Linked DNA regions of Homo sapiens: regions 2, 3, 4 and 5 are each linked to region 1. Evidence: promoter capture Hi-C in 16 types of primary human blood cells and fetal thymus (Javierre and others, 2016). All regions are on one chromosome and are shown on one strand. The core of a region is centred on a gene start or on the middle of the fragment in contact, and the rest is flanking DNA. Distances in the headings are between cores, read along the strand shown.

What was found. Contacts are between HindIII fragments. The CHiCAGO score rates a contact against its expected background, and 5 or more counts as called.
Region 2: a contact is called between a fragment that was not itself captured here and the fragment with the promoter of LRRC73 in region 1, in 1 of 17 cell types (naive B cells). The highest score is 5.6, in naive B cells.
Region 3: a contact is called between the fragment with the promoter of SRF here and the fragment with the promoter of LRRC73 in region 1, in 8 of 17 cell types (megakaryocytes, endothelial precursors, erythroblasts and 5 more). The highest score is 6.2, in megakaryocytes.
Region 4: a fragment that was not itself captured here is called in contact with the fragment with the promoter of LRRC73 in region 1 in 10 of 17 cell types (naive B cells, endothelial precursors, total B cells and 7 more); the score reaches 7.1 in naive B cells.
Region 5: a fragment that was not itself captured here is called in contact with the fragment with the promoter of LRRC73 in region 1 in 1 of 17 cell types (naive B cells); the score reaches 5.8 in naive B cells.

What each region holds. Positions count from the first base shown.
Region 1 is chr6:43,508,846-43,511,731 of GRCh38, forward strand. It overlaps LRRC73 (leucine rich repeat containing 73), which reads right to left and starts at 1,501. Exons shown (of 6, transcript NM_001012974.4): 1 at 669-1,501; 2 at 1-75. The coding sequence starts at 940. RefSeq lists silencers at 1,079-1,348, 1,369-1,658. The HindIII fragment of the contact is 9,076 bases long and covers 1-2,886 here.
Region 2 is chr6:43,016,647-43,019,532 of GRCh38, forward strand. KLHDC3 (kelch domain containing 3) reads left to right here. Exons shown (of 11, transcript NM_057161.4): 2 at 488-700; 3 at 873-1,049; 4 at 1,207-1,322; 5 at 1,499-1,570; 6 at 1,697-1,910; 7 at 1,987-2,073; 8 at 2,217-2,325; 9 at 2,446-2,519; 10 at 2,642-2,720. The coding sequence starts at 547. It also overlaps a transcript of MEA1 not described here. Among named protein-coding and RNA genes, the nearest start is that of RRP36, 3.5 kb to the right of the region's middle. The HindIII fragment of the contact is 2,971 bases long and covers 1-2,886 here.
Region 3 is chr6:43,169,922-43,172,807 of GRCh38, forward strand. It overlaps SRF (serum response factor), which reads left to right and starts at 1,348. Exons shown (of 7, transcript NM_003131.4): 1 at 1,348-2,248. The coding sequence starts at 1,736. RefSeq lists enhancers at 552-1,281, 2,308-2,886, 2,567-2,776 and a silencer at 1,257-1,836. The HindIII fragment of the contact is 6,652 bases long and covers 1-2,886 here.
Region 4 is chr6:43,187,518-43,190,403 of GRCh38, forward strand. It overlaps CUL9 (cullin 9), which reads left to right. Exons shown (of 41, transcript NM_015089.4): 7 at 196-601; 8 at 1,006-1,198. Among named protein-coding and RNA genes, the nearest start is that of CUL9, 6.8 kb to the left of the region's middle. RefSeq lists an enhancer at 1-62. The HindIII fragment of the contact is 199 bases long and covers 1,292-1,490 here.
Region 5 is chr6:43,205,365-43,208,250 of GRCh38, forward strand. It overlaps CUL9 (cullin 9), which reads left to right. Exons shown (of 41, transcript NM_015089.4): 24 at 1-59; 25 at 643-871; 26 at 957-1,146. Among named protein-coding and RNA genes, the nearest start is that of DNPH1, 23 kb to the right of the region's middle. The HindIII fragment of the contact is 3,481 bases long and covers 1-2,886 here.

The sequences.
Region 1 (2,886 bases), core at 251-2,750:
ACGAGGGCAGGGTGGAGGGCCAGGGCTGGGTTCAGCAAGGCCAGCCCCGCATCTGTCAGGGGGCTCCCATGCAGGCTGGAGGAGAGTGAGAGAGCAGGGTTACTGCAGTCCTCCGCACTATCTACATGGGAAAGGGGCACTTTCACTTCTGTCAGCCCTAGGTATGGGGAGGGCAGTCACAGCGCTTGAGAGGCCTGGAAAAGGAGAAGGAAAGTTCTAGATTCTCAGGGAATACAGATAGAGGGAGAATTCGGTTTGTTTTCTGGGGCAGGGATCCAGGACATTGCACAGGGAGGGGCAGAGAAGGGGTGGGTGGGTGGTGGACCGGAACTCTGCAGTGGGCAGGGCTCTCGTCCCCACGGGGATATTCCCCCTTGGGAACCAAGGAGCTGCCCCAGTGAAGTAAATGCAGATGATTAGGTGGGGAGGTACGGCCCCCACCTCATGTCAGGAACTGGTGGGTATCCCAACACGGCTAGGGTCGCGCGTGCAAAGTCCAAGCATGTGCTTGGAGGGTGCTGTGAAGGCATGGGCCGAGGCACGGTGTATGTGCATAAGGCATGTGAAGGTAGGATGGTACTGGAAGGAGTGTGGAGGAACAGGAGGTGCCAGGGGAGTGTATGGAAGGGTGCAGTGCCCGGGACCCCCTTGCGAGGGGGCGCACTCACAAGAGGGACTGGATGGAGCGGTTGGTCCGCAGAGCCTCAGCCAGCTGCTTGATGCGGCTGGGGCTGGACACGACGCCCAGGTTAAGGTTGAGCTGCGCCAGGGACGTGGCCCCGGCCAGGGCCCGGCAGATGCGGCCAAAGTCGCGGTCGCAGAGGCGGCAGCCGCGCAGTGAGAGCAGGCGCACGGCGTTGTCGCGAAGGCCGCGGCAGATGTCCCGCACCTCGGCGCCGGACAGCGGCTCCCCCGAAATCTGGATGGAGCTGGGCAGCATCGTGCCCACGGCTGGGCCTCCGGGTACGGGGCCGGAACGGAGGTTGGTGGGGCCGCGGGCGGGGCCGGGGATAGGGCCGGGGTCGGGGCCCCGGCAGGGGTCGCGGGCGGAGTGGGGCCGGGGGTGGAGGCGGCGGCTGTGGCGGAGGCTGCGGCTGCGGCGGAGGCTGCGGCGGGGGCGGAGAAGAGCTACCGGGACTGAGCCGGAGCCGGCCAGAGGTGCGGAGGCGTCCAGGGCGCGGGCCGGGCTGAAGTGGGGCGGCGCTGGGGCGGGGGCGGCCCGCACGGTCCGTGTCTGGGCGTTGGGGCGGGTGCGCGTTCCGGGGGTTGGGCAGGCGCTGCTCGGCGCTTGTCCTTGTCCCTCGCGGTCGCGGCGGCGGCGGCGGCAGCGGCAGCGAGCGGCTCAAGGGCTTCGGCTTACCGGTCTCGGCTAGGAGGCCGTACCCGCTCCCTCCTTCTCTGCCGCCCGGCTCCCCCCGACCACCCCGCGGGCCTGGCCGCACGGCTGGCAGAGAGAGCCTGAGGCGGGCGGCTGGCGGCAGCTCCGGCTCCAGCTCCAGAGAGCGAGCGGGCGGCGAGTTCCCATGGCAACGGCCGCGTCACCGGCGCTCGCCCCGCCCCCTGCCCGGCCAAGGCCACGCCGGCCCGCGAGGTTCGCGTACACTGGGTGGTTCGGGGCAAGGAGCTGGGAGCGATAGGCCGCTCTTCCCTTGGGAGTGGGGTCAGCCAACTGGCAGGCGGCAGGCGGCAGGGCTGAGTGGGTAGGGCTGACGGGGAGCGGAATGGAGGCACGCCCCGTGGAGATGGCGTTGGGCACGGTTACTGCTGCTTCTGCCCATTCTTCCATCCTTCCCCGTTCCTAAGGTCCATACCCCCGCCGGAATCCAGGGCACTGTTCCCTCCTATTTGGAAGGCCCCAGGGCCCTTTCATCCGCGCCGCGCCTCGCTCCCGCCCCCGTGACTCGAGGCGCAGCGTGCGTGGTGATCCCGGCCCATGGGGACTTCCCCGCTTGCTCCTCGCCAAGATGGCGGCCTCATCAGGGAGGCCCCAGGGGCCACGGCTGGGCAGAGCCAGCTTGAGCTGCTGGGGAGAAGGGTACCCCATAGGGTCCCTAGGGCAGGGGAGCCTCAGATAGATGCAAGGTCCTGGTGCCACACCTTCTCAGGTACGCAGGGCACTGTTGACATCTGAGGGTGTGTCCGTGCCGCGAGACTGGGGCAGCCAATACAAAGAAGGTGCCAGGGCCAGGGCCCTGGAGCACTGGTGAGGACGTGAAGGCGGCTGAGCCACACTGCACGGTGCAGGCGGTGCTGTCTCAACTTTGTCCTCTGGCCAGGGTGGTGGGGGACTCACTTGTGTAACGCAGGACAAATGAAGGGCACCTCTGTTTGTCCCTTTGTTAGGAGGGATAGATGCTGCTGACCCAGATTTACTAGTGTTAAGATGATTATTTTACATAAAATATAATATTCAATATAGTGAAGGGAGGTCAAAGGCCCTATTCCCACTCTTAGCCACCTGAATTAACTTATTAAGTGGAGCATATTAAAGAGGTGGTGGGGGTGGATGGTGCTATGTTAGGAGTGGTGGTTGGTTTTAAGAGGAAAGACAGAAAAACTAAAAGGAGCTGGCCCCAGTACCACCAAGGCAAAGCCAAATTTGGCTTCAATTAAGAGCTCCACAGGAAAATTATCAACACAATGCCCAGGTGCAGAAGATCCTTGTTTTGACACGGGGTTTAAGTCGGGATGTTTTGTTCAATTGTCACTGCTTCCTTGGCTTCCCAAGAGAGCAGCTGAGCCCAGACTCAAGCTGGCTGCAGTGTTCCATCAGGCTTATGGCTTTTGTGCTTGAGGCCTCCCTGCCGCTTCATGGGTCAGGTGTGATATTCAATCACTGCCTTCTATGTAGTCTGGCCTGTCCCACCTTTATCTTGCCTGGGTGAG
Region 2 (2,886 bases), core at 223-2,722, 490 kb before region 1:
TGAGGCACTCATGCCAGCTTTCAATGGACTGTTTGAGGCTGGCTGGGCTATTAATAGCTGTGAGTATTTTGAGATCCCTTTCCCCACCTCAAAGAACACAGATTCTTAGAGAGGTGGCAGTAAGCAGAGCAGAGACAAGAGAATATACCGTTTGGGAAGGGGGCTTCAAGTTTGTGCCAAGCCAGGGACAGAGTGGAGCCTCCACGAGTAGGTTGTGACCATGATATGCAGATTCTGAGCTGGCAATCAGGTGGGGGTGGCCCCACCCTTCACTGTTGGAGAACACTGGGCCCAGGCTGCTCCCTGACCTCGGCAGCTCCCTTGGGGCAGGGCCAGCCACCTGAGCTGAGACTAGTGCCCCTGTGGAGGGGTAGTGTGGGAGGGCCCCCAGGGTGACACTTGGAGGCAAAGGCTGGTTCTGGGCAGAGTCACAGTGAGCTGGGCAGAAGCCTCGCCTGAGGATCCCGTGGCCCCAATTTGTGTGCAGATAGCAGAGGCAGCAGGCCGTGCCGGGGGGGCATGTTGCTGTAACCAGTGGCCCAGGGGATGTTACGGTGGACAGTGCACCTGGAGGGCGGGCCCCGCAGGGTGAACCATGCTGCAGTGGCTGTCGGGCATCGGGTATACTCCTTCGGGGGTTACTGCTCTGGTGAAGACTATGAGACACTGCGTCAGATAGATGTGCACATTTTCAATGCAGGTAAGCCAATGCTGGGGCTGTCCCTGGGTCCCCACATCAGGGTGGGAACGGGCTGCTGATGAGGTTTGGCTGTGGTCTCTGGGACCAAGGGGATTGGGGACAAACATCTGGTTTGGGAAAAGTGGACAGCCTGGAGGGAGGTTCCCAGGGCTGAGCAGAGCTGTGCCCACAGTGTCCTTGCGTTGGACAAAGCTGCCCCCGGTGAAGTCTGCCATCCGTGGGCAAGCTCCTGTGGTACCCTACATGCGCTATGGACACTCAACCGTCCTCATCGACGACACAGTCCTCCTTTGGGGCGGGCGGAATGACACCGAAGGGGCCTGCAATGTGCTCTATGCCTTTGACGTCAGTGAGTATGGATCTCAGAGAGGCTATGTCCTTCCAGATGTTGCCTCAGTTGCCCAAGAAAGGTTTGGGTTGGGGGTCTTGGGGAGTAGAGTACCCCAGAGCTGAGGAGGGACTGTCATAGAGGGTGCTTAGTTGAGCCATTTTCTCATCTCCTTCAGATACGCACAAGTGGTTCACACCCCGAGTGTCAGGGACAGTTCCTGGGGCCCGGGATGGACATTCAGCCTGTGTCCTAGGCAAGATCATGTACATTTTTGGGGGCTACGAGCAGCAGGTAGGTCTGGGAATAAAATAAGAGGTTTAGGGTGGGACTGAGAAAGAGGGGAAGGGCAATTTAGGATGGTGAAATGGGAGGCTTTGGCTTGTTTGCAGGTTTTGAGGGGAGGGATGGAGGGTCAGAGAGTGACCATTGGCTCCCTCTTTTCTTCCTCCTTTTCTCTTCCTACTCAGGCGGACTGTTTTTCCAATGACATTCACAAGCTAGATACCAGCACCATGACATGGACTCTTATCTGTACAAAGGTCTGCTCTTTCTTTTTTTTCCCAAATCCCCACCCTCTGTTGAAGCAATGATAGGAAGCTCAGTCAGAGGAGATCCTCTTCCAGTCTTTGTGCTGACCCCTCCACCATCTCTCTGCCTCTGCCCAGGGCAGCCCTGCACGCTGGAGGGACTTCCACTCAGCCACAATGCTGGGAAGTCACATGTATGTCTTTGGGGGCCGTGCCGACCGCTTTGGGCCATTCCATTCCAACAATGAGATTTACTGCAACCGCATTCGAGTCTTTGACACCAGAACTGAGGCTTGGCTGGACTGTCCCCCGACTCCAGTGCTGCCTGAGGGGCGCCGGAGCCACTCGGCCTGTGAGTGTTTGTTACTTCCCTGTGGAGTTCCCTTCCTGCCCTCTTCACACTCCTGACACTTCCTCTCTCCTTCCAGTTGGCTACAATGGGGAGCTGTACATCTTTGGTGGTTATAATGCAAGGCTGAACCGGCACTTCCATGACCTCTGGAAGTTTAATCCTGGTAAAGAGCACTGCATTTAGGGCAGGAACAAGGAGCAATTGAGGTGGGAGGAAAAGAAAATAATCCTGAGGCGGTGAGGGATGGGGGTGGGGAAGATACCTGGACTAGGCAGGTATTGAACTTCCATATAAATTTCTCTTCAGTGTCCTTTACCTGGAAAAAGATTGAACCGAAGGGGAAGGGGCCATGTCCCCGCCGGCGCCAGTGCTGCTGTATTGTTGGTGACAAGATTGTCCTCTTTGGGGGTACCAGGTTAGAAGGAGAGAGGGAAGGGGCTCAGGGAAGTCACTAATGGGAGAGTGGGAGGTATTTGAAAAGGGGGTTTCGTGGGTAGTTTTTGTCCTACTTTCATCTCTCTTTTGATCCCGACAGTCCATCTCCTGAGGAAGGCCTGGGAGATGAATTTGACCTTATAGATCATTCTGACTTACACATTTTGGACTTTAGTAAGTATAGTTATTCCTGAATTGCTCCTGCCATCAAGGTCCCTGTCTTTGGGTGGTGATATCCAGGACTGGATCCTTTCCTCACCTTTGACCATCTCCTTTCCACAACTTCTCCCTTAAAGGCCCTAGTCTGAAGACTCTGTGCAAACTGGCCGTGATTCAGTATAACCTAGACCAGTCCTGTTTGCCTCATGATATCAGGTACAGCGAGTGGTTGGAAGGGAGGGATTGAGTGAGGGTGAGTGAGCAGCACAGGTGTGACCTGATTAGCTTGGTTTCAGTATGGAGGAGACAGACATTTTTGTTCTGCTGGAGATGTAGTGTACTTGTGGGAAATGAGATGGAAGGAGGTGAATTGACAGCCATC
Region 3 (2,886 bases), core at 98-2,597, 340 kb before region 1:
GGAGAAAAGACCCAGACCCAGAGCTTGAACCTCACTTTGCAGCACCCCAGTTCTAATCTTTTAAGTTTTTTTTTTTTTTTTTTTTTTTTTCTGCTGGGCACGGTGGTTCATGCCTATAATCCCAGCACTTTGGGAAGCCGAGGGGGAAGGATCGCTTGAGGCCAGGAGTTCGAAACCAGTCTGGGCAACATGGCAAAACCCCATCTCTACAAAAAATACAAAAATTAGGCCAGAGTGGTGGCGCGCACCTGTAGTTCCAGCTACGTGAGAGGCGGAGGTGGGAGAATCGCTTGAACCCGGGAGGCAGAGGTTGCAATGAGCTCAGATCCCGCCACTGCACTCCAGGTTGGGCGACAGAGCGATACCCTGTGTGAAACTTTTTTTTTTTTCTCCAACGGGCTTTCCAGAGAAGTGTGTGTATGTGCGTGTGTGTGCGCGAGCGTGCTTGCTTGGGCTTAAACTTTCTGTCGGGCCACACTTTCCCAAGTCTTTGCACTGGCTGTAGGGTGGGCTTTATCCTCGGGACGTCCTCCTCCCCAAGTCCAGCCTGCAGCTGGAAGTCTTCACTGATCTCCATCTCTCCTCCCTGATCTCCGTCTCTCCTCCCTGCCCGCCTCAGGACTGGGAGGCCGATCTCTCTCTCTCGCCCTCCCCTCCACCAGCCTTTTCCAGATGTATGTCTGCCAAAGACCCCCCAGTGCAGAGGATGATGAATGAAGATCCTCGAGCCAGCCCGGTGGGAAAGTTTCGTCGCCTACAAAAGCGAGGGAAAGGGAAGGGAAGTTGGGGGTAGGGGAAAAGTTAGAGCTGAGAGGCTGGGGCGCGACGAGTCTGGACACCGGGCGGGGACCCAAGCTCTCTCCGCTCAGCCAATAACTGTGCCTCCCTTAGGAAGGCGTGAGGAAATGCTCCAATCAATCCCTGCACTCCTCCCTTGGAATTTGGGCTGTATTTTTTTATTTACTGCAAACCCCACAATCCACCCAGGGGTTTCCCCAGTGTTTGCCTCCAGCGGTCCCGGTGCCCATTTACTAGTGCTGCTCCCTCTCTTCCGCAAGACTGCGCTCCAGTCCCAGCCTCCTTCTCCGCGGGTGCCTCCCAAACCGTTCTATCATTCTCGGGTTCAGGGAGGCGGAATCGTGCCTGCTCTCCGGTTCCTTTAAGAGGCGTCGGCTCCACCCCTCTCAGAGTCGCGGTCTGACGCGAGATGACAGCAACGAGTTCGGTATGTCTATGCAAATAAGCGCCCTCTTGTGGGCCAATGGGGAGCGGAGGTGCCGGAACCACGGACCAATGGGGCGGGGGCGCTGGGGCTCACCATATAAGGAGCGGCCTCGCCATAAAAGGAAACATTGTATCTCTTTATATGGGGGGAAGGGTCGGGGGATCCCTCCGCCGCCAGCGCGTGGTCCCGGCCCCCTCCACCCGCCGTCTCGGCCGCGGCCAGCAGCCCCTGCCCCCCGGGGGACGCTGACGGCCGCCCGGCGCGCCGCCCTAGCAGACGGACAGGGGGCGCTGCGCGCGGCCTGGGGCAACCCGGGCCACAGGGGCAGGAAAGTGAGGGCCCAGGTCGGCCCGGGCGTGCAGGGGCCCCGGGTTCGCAGCGGCGGCCGCGGCAGCGATAGCGGCACTAGCAGCAGCGGGAGTGCCGGGTTGAGCCGGGAAGCCGATGGCGGCGGCTGCGGCGGCTCCGATTCCTCGCTGACTGCCCGTCCGCCCTCCTGCATCGAGCGCCATGTTACCGACCCAAGCTGGGGCCGCGGCGGCTCTGGGCCGGGGCTCGGCCCTGGGGGGCAGCCTGAACCGGACCCCGACGGGGCGGCCGGGCGGCGGCGGCGGGACACGCGGGGCTAACGGGGGCCGGGTCCCCGGGAATGGCGCGGGGCTCGGGCCCGGCCGCCTGGAGCGGGAGGCTGCGGCAGCGGCGGCAACCACCCCGGCGCCCACCGCGGGGGCCCTCTACAGCGGCAGCGAGGGCGACTCGGAGTCGGGCGAGGAGGAGGAGCTGGGCGCCGAGCGGCGCGGCCTGAAGCGGAGCCTGAGCGAGATGGAGATCGGTATGGTGGTCGGTGGGCCCGAGGCGTCGGCAGCGGCCACCGGGGGCTACGGGCCGGTGAGCGGCGCGGTGAGCGGGGCCAAGCCGGGTAAGAAGACCCGGGGCCGCGTGAAGATCAAGATGGAGTTCATCGACAACAAGCTGCGGCGCTACACGACCTTCAGCAAGAGGAAGACGGGCATCATGAAGAAGGTACCAAGCCGGGGGGCTGGCCGGCCCCGGGGCCCGGTTGGGGTGGGGATGTGCAAAGGGAGCCCGGGAGGACCGCAGAGCCGAGGCGGAGGTGAGAGGCTGCGAGTCCGCAGGAGGTGTGTGGGAGGGGATGGCTCCTGCCCGGGGAGGGCCGAAGGGGAGGGGCCGCCGGGGAAATGTGGGGAGAGGGGAGATCCCGCGAACGCTCGCAACCGTGGGGAAAGGCGCAGAGGTGGGAGTGACCGGCGCCAGAGAGGAAGAGGGCCCTTGCTGAGTGAAGGGGTGAGGAGCGGTGATGGGAGGCTACGAGGCTGCCGGGGAGGTGGATAATGAGAACCCGGGATCAGTAGGTCCAGTGCACTCCGGTGTTCGGACGAGGGCGCCGGAAAAGCAGGGAGCAAACGAGAAGGTATGGAGGTGAGGAGGCTGGAGCTGCATGACAACAATGAGCGAACATGTGTGGGAGGAAGTGGGCACCACGAGAGTAGTGCTGGTTGGAAGGACAGGCAGGGTTAGGGACCAGGTAAGGGAGCGGGGCAGGAGAACTGGTGCTGCCCTGAGCAGCAGGAACCTAGTCCTGCGCCGGCCGTGAGTCTTCCATGGCATCCACTGGGAACCACATGCTCCTGGCAGGACCC
Region 4 (2,886 bases), core at 141-2,640, 320 kb before region 1:
GTTACCGCTTAGGGGGAGGCTGGAGCTAGAGATTAGAGTTAGGAGGAGTCCTGCTGGGGGTTGGAGGCAAGTGCTGTGAGGGTCTAGTATGTAGAAGGTGTGGGGGCATGGTAGGGAGTGATCACCCTTCCCATTACTGACCCCAAGACCTTTGTGTCTGCTTGTCTCTTAAACGTATACCCCTTCTGTTGACAGACCCTGGGTGAAAAGGCCCTAGGTGAGATCTCTGTGTCCGTGGAAATGGCCGAGAGTCTGCTGCAGGTTCTCAGTAGTCGATTTGAGGGCAGCACTCTCAATGACCTGCTCAACTCCCAGATCTACACCAAGTATGGGCTGCTGTCTAATGAACCAAGCAGCTCGTCTACTTCACGAAATCACTCCTGTACCCCAGATCCAGAAGAGGAGTCCAAGTCGGAGGCCAGCTTCTCAGAGGAAGAGACTGAGTCCCTCAAAGCAAAGGCCGAGGCCCCTAAGACAGAGGCCGAGCCCACCAAGACAAGGACCGAGACCCCCATGGCACAGAGTGATTCTCAGCTGTTTAACCAGCTTCTGGTGACTGAGGGGATGACCCTGCCCACTGAGATGAAGGAGGCAGCCAGTGGTGAGTCAGGTTCTGGGAGGAAGCAATTGGAACAAGTCCTGGGTAGTCTCAGTAGAAGAAATGGATAGTCAGGATCGAAGGAAAGCCATGGAGGAAGGTGATTTTTGCAGGGGAAAATGCCTTGGAACCATGCGTCCATCTTCTTCCTTTTGACCTTGATTGTATTTAATTAACCAGCGCTCCCTTCCTTCAGTATCTCTGGAAAAGGAGGATCCGTTTTCTGGGGTGTCTTCATCTCCTTTGTTTGATCATTAGATCCCTGACACAGAATTGGAAAACTCTGCAAGCTGCAGTAGCCGATAATGTGTTTAAATATTGGTAGGATAACTGGGCTTGACTTTAAAGACTTCTAACTTCAAGGTGCCACAGTTCTTTTAGCCATTGCCTTTTCCCACCAATTTCAGAAATGGCCAGAGCCTTGCGGGGTCCCGGTCCTCGCAGCTCCCTGGATCAGCATGTGGCAGCGGTCGTGGCCACTGTGCAGATATCCAGCTTGGACACAAACCTGCAGCTTTCAGGGCTCTCTGCCCTCTCTCAGGCTGTGGAGGAGGTCACTGAGCGGGACCACCCTCTGGTCCGTCCTGACAGATCGCTGAGGTTAGCATACTGGGGAGGGAAGAGGTTTTGGTTGAAGCTGTAGGCAAAGGATGGTGGTAGCGGGGAAGGAGCTTTGAGATCACGAATTAGAAAAGCTTGGGGTGAGGGAAGGCTCAGCCTGAGGAGCAGCCGAGCAGGAGGGTTGGATGTTTTAATGGCTCGTATTCTTGGAGCACTTCTGTTATGCCAGGCACTGTGCTAGTATTTTACATGCATTCTCTCATTAAATCCACCTAACACCTGAGGAAGCGTTGGTAATATTATTATCCTACTATATGGGTGAGGAAACTGAAGCTTAGAGAATTTAAGTAACTTGCTTAGAGTTTTACAGATAGCAGAGCCAGGATTCAAACCTAGGTCTTTTTGGCTCTAGAACTGGAGTTTTTTCTCTTTCTTTTTCTTTTTTTTCTGTCCCTACGTACTTTTTTTTTTTCACATTAGACCTTAAAACCTACTTTATTTTAAATTTTTTTCTACCTTTATTTATTTATTTTTGAGACAGTCTTGCTATGTCGTCATGCTGGAGTGCAGTGGCGCGATCTCGGCTCACTGCAACCTCTGCCTCCCGGGTTCAAGGGATTCTCCCGCCTCAGCCTCCCAAGTAGCTGGGATTACAGGCACCACCACACCCAGCTAATTTTTGTACTTTTAGTAGAGACAGGGTTTCATCATGTTTGCCAGGATGGTCTCGATCTTCTGACCTCGTGATCTGCCTGCCTCGGCCTCCCAAAGTGCTGGGATTGCAGGCGTGAGCCACCGCGTCCAGCCCTCTACTTTTAAATTATACAAATAACACACAACTTATTCTCATTCTATTTATTTATTTTTATTTATTTACTTGTTTTTGAGACAGAGTCTCACTCTGTCACCCAGGCTAGAGTGCAATAGTGTGATCTTGGCTCACTGCAACCTCCGCCTCCTGGGTTCAAGCAGTTCTTATGTCTCAGCCTCCCAAGTAGCTGGGATTACAGGTGCCCACCACCAGGCCCAGCTAATTTTTGTATTTTAGTAGAGACGGGGTTTCACCCTGTTGGCCAGGCTGGTCTCGAACTCCTAACCTCAGATGATCCAGTCTCCCAAAGTGCTGGGATTACAGGTGTGAGCCACCATGCCCAGCCGCATTCTCATTTTAAAAGATCTGAAGAATGTAAAAGGACATAGGAGGGCCAAAGTCCTTTCTCACCACTGTTATCAGTCTACTATATCCTACAGATTTGCATTTGTAATTGTGTGTTTGGAAATAGAGCATTTTCTGAGTCTTTGTTTTAGTCTATGTAATCACATTCTACATGTTTCTACAACTTTTTTTTTTTTGCCCCCGCTCAGTGTCTTAGAGGGCTTTCCATATCAGTCTGGGTGGAGCTGCCTCATTATTTTTACTGCTGCATGGGACCCTGCAGTGTGGTTATCTCCAGTTTCAAGTGCAGTGTTCTAACGCGTCTGTTTTTCCTTACGTCTGCCAACACTGAATATTGTCGTCTTTTTTAATCTATCTAATTGGCAGCATTTTAAATGATTGGTATCTCTTTGTTTTAATTTCCTAGTTCTGGTAAAGTTAGGCACATTTGCATACATTTGTTCTGTTTTTTTTTTTCTATAAATATTCTGTTATTATCCTTTGCCCACTTTTTAATTGGATCTTTGCCTTTTTTAATGTATTTATAGGCATTTTGGTTATTCCTTTGTTA
Region 5 (2,886 bases), core at 273-2,772, 300 kb before region 1:
GAACCCATTATGGTCCTTTCTGGTCTGGAACTGGCCACAACTTTTGAGCACTTCTATCAGTGAGTGCAGGTCTGGAGGCATAGGGGATGGGAGGCCTAGATCTAGAGAGTGGAAAGATTTGAGTCTTATAGGGGAGATGAGAAAAGAGGCTGTGTAGAGGAGAGATTAAGATGTGGAGATGGCTGGCCAGGCGCGGTGGCTCACGCATGTAATCCCAGCATTCTGGCAGGCAGATCACCTGAGGTCAGGAGTTCAAGACCAGCCTGACCAACATGGTGAAACCCTTTCTCTACTAAAAATACAAAAATTAGCCAGGTGTGGTGGCGTGGTGGCAGGCACCTGTAATCCCAGCTATTCGGGAGGGTGAGGCAGGTGAATCTCTTGAACCCGGGAGGCAGAGGTTGCAGTGAGCCAAGACCACGTCATTGCACTTCAGCCTGGGTGACAAGAGCAAGACTCCGTCTCAAAAAAAAAAAAAAAAAGTGGAGGTGGTCATGCATTGGTGGAAAGGGAGTGGGAAAGAAGAGGTGAGGTAGGGTATGTGACTCAGGCAGAGGGACAGAGGGACCTACATTCTCGAGGGGGAGGCTGGGCCACGCTGGCACCCACACTGAGGCTTGGCCCGGGCTGTGTGTGCTGCAGGCATTATATGGCGGACCGTCTCCTGAGCTTTGGTTCGAGCTGGCTGGAGGGGGCTGTGCTAGAGCAGATTGGCCTCTGTTTTCCCAACCGCCTCCCACAGCTGATGCTGCAGAGCCTGAGCACCTCTGAGGAGCTGCAGCGCCAGTTCCACCTCTTCCAGCTCCAGCGGCTCGACAAGTTGTTCTTGGAGCAGGAAGATGAGGAGGAAAAGAGACTAGAGGAAGAGGAGGTAAGAGCAGGGAGAATAGGAGAGTGAGAGAAGACTAGACCAAGGAAGGGAGCCCAAGGGCCCTTGAAATCCTTCTGTCCCTCAGGAGGAAGAGGAGGAAGAGGAAGCTGAGAAAGAATTATTTATCGAAGATCCAAGTCCAGCCATTTCTATACTGGTCCTGTCACCACGCTGCTGGCCCGTCTCCCCACTCTGCTACCTGTACCATCCCAGAAAGTGCCTTCCCACAGAATTCTGTGATGCCCTTGACCGTTTCTCCAGTTTCTACAGCCAGAGTGAGGAACTAGGGAGAGGAAATTGGAGATCGGGGTGAGATTCGGGGTGGCAAGAGAGGAAGAGGAGAGGACCTTTGGACAGGATATAGATGTGAAGAAAAATATCAGCTCCTAGCGAGGGATGAGAAAGCATGGGTTGTAGTTTCATTAATTTCTGCTCTCATCAGTTTCTTCAACTTTCTATGAATTTGTTCTGTTTTCTTTTTCTAACTTCAAGTGAGGTGCTTATTTGATTTTTAGTCTTTTCAGACTTTTTTCCAAATAAAAGTGTTTAAGACTATTCATTTCCCTCTCAATACTGCTTTAGTGGCATCCTATAAAGTTTTAAAAGATTTTTTTTCTTTATTTTTTTGACATGGAGTCTCACTCTGTCACCCAGACCAGAGTGCAGTGGTGTAATCTCTGCTCACTGCAGCCTCTACCTCCCGGGTTCAAGCGATTCTCCTGTCTCAGCCTCCCAAGTAGCTGGGACTACAGGCGTATGCCACCACACCCGGCTAATTGTGTATTTTTAGTAGTGACGGGGTTTCACCATGTTAACCAGGCTGGTCTCAAACTCCTGACCTCAGGTGATCCACCCGCCTCAGTGAGCCACTGTGCCCGGCCAAAAAGATTTTTTAGATTGGGATATAACTAGTATTCAGTAAAGTGCACACGTCTTAATTATAAGGCTTCATGAATTATTATATTCATATACACCCATGTATCTACCTCCCTCATACCCCCATCAAGATACAGAACATTTCCAGCATCGTAGAAGGCTGTCTCCTTCATGCCCCCTTTCCAGTCAATGTCTTCTTCCAGGAGAAATCATTATTTTTAACCTTTATCACCATAGATTTGTGCCTGTATTTGAACATCATATAAATGGAATCATACAGTATTCTGCTGTGTCTGATGTCTTTCACGAAACATACTGTCTGTGAGGGTTATTCAGGTTGTCAAGGGTATCATTAGTTTATTCATTTATTTTGCTGAGTCATATTCCATTGTATGGATGTATTTACCCTTTCTGCTGTTTATGGGCATTTGGGATGTTCTGTAAGTTTTTATTACGTATTATTTTTATTATTGTTTAGTTCTAAGAATTGTTAAATTTCTATTATTATTTCTTTATTTTGTTTTTCAGAAGAATATATATTTTAATTTCCAAACAAGTTTTTCTTTGTTTAATTTTTTTTTGTTTTATATTTCTAACCTCATTCCCCTGTGGCCAAAGAGCATGGTTTCTATGATTCTGAATCTTTGCAGTTTATTGAGACTTCGTTATGGCCTGGTAGATGGTCATATTTTACCTGTTTCATGTATGATTAAGAAGAATGTGTATTCTTAACTGGATTCTACATATTTCACCAAATTGACCTTGTTAATTGTTTTGTTCACATCTTCTGTAAAGTTACTAGTTTTTGTCTACTTGATCTACTACTGAGAGAGGTGTGCTAAAATCTACCACTATGATGGTGAATTTTTTAAAACCGCTAATCATACTGGTTTAACTGTATATATATTTTTTGGCTATTTTGTTAGAAGGTTAAAATAGTTTAACAGTGCTATCCAGTAGAACTTTCTGCAATGATTGAAAAATTCTTTTCTGCACCGTTCAGTATGATAGTCATTGGTGGCAATTAAGTACTTGGAATGTGGCTAATATAACTGAGGAACTAAATAATTTAATTGTAATCAGTTTATTATTTTATTTTAATTTTTTTGAGACAGAGTCTCACTCTGTCACCCAGGCTG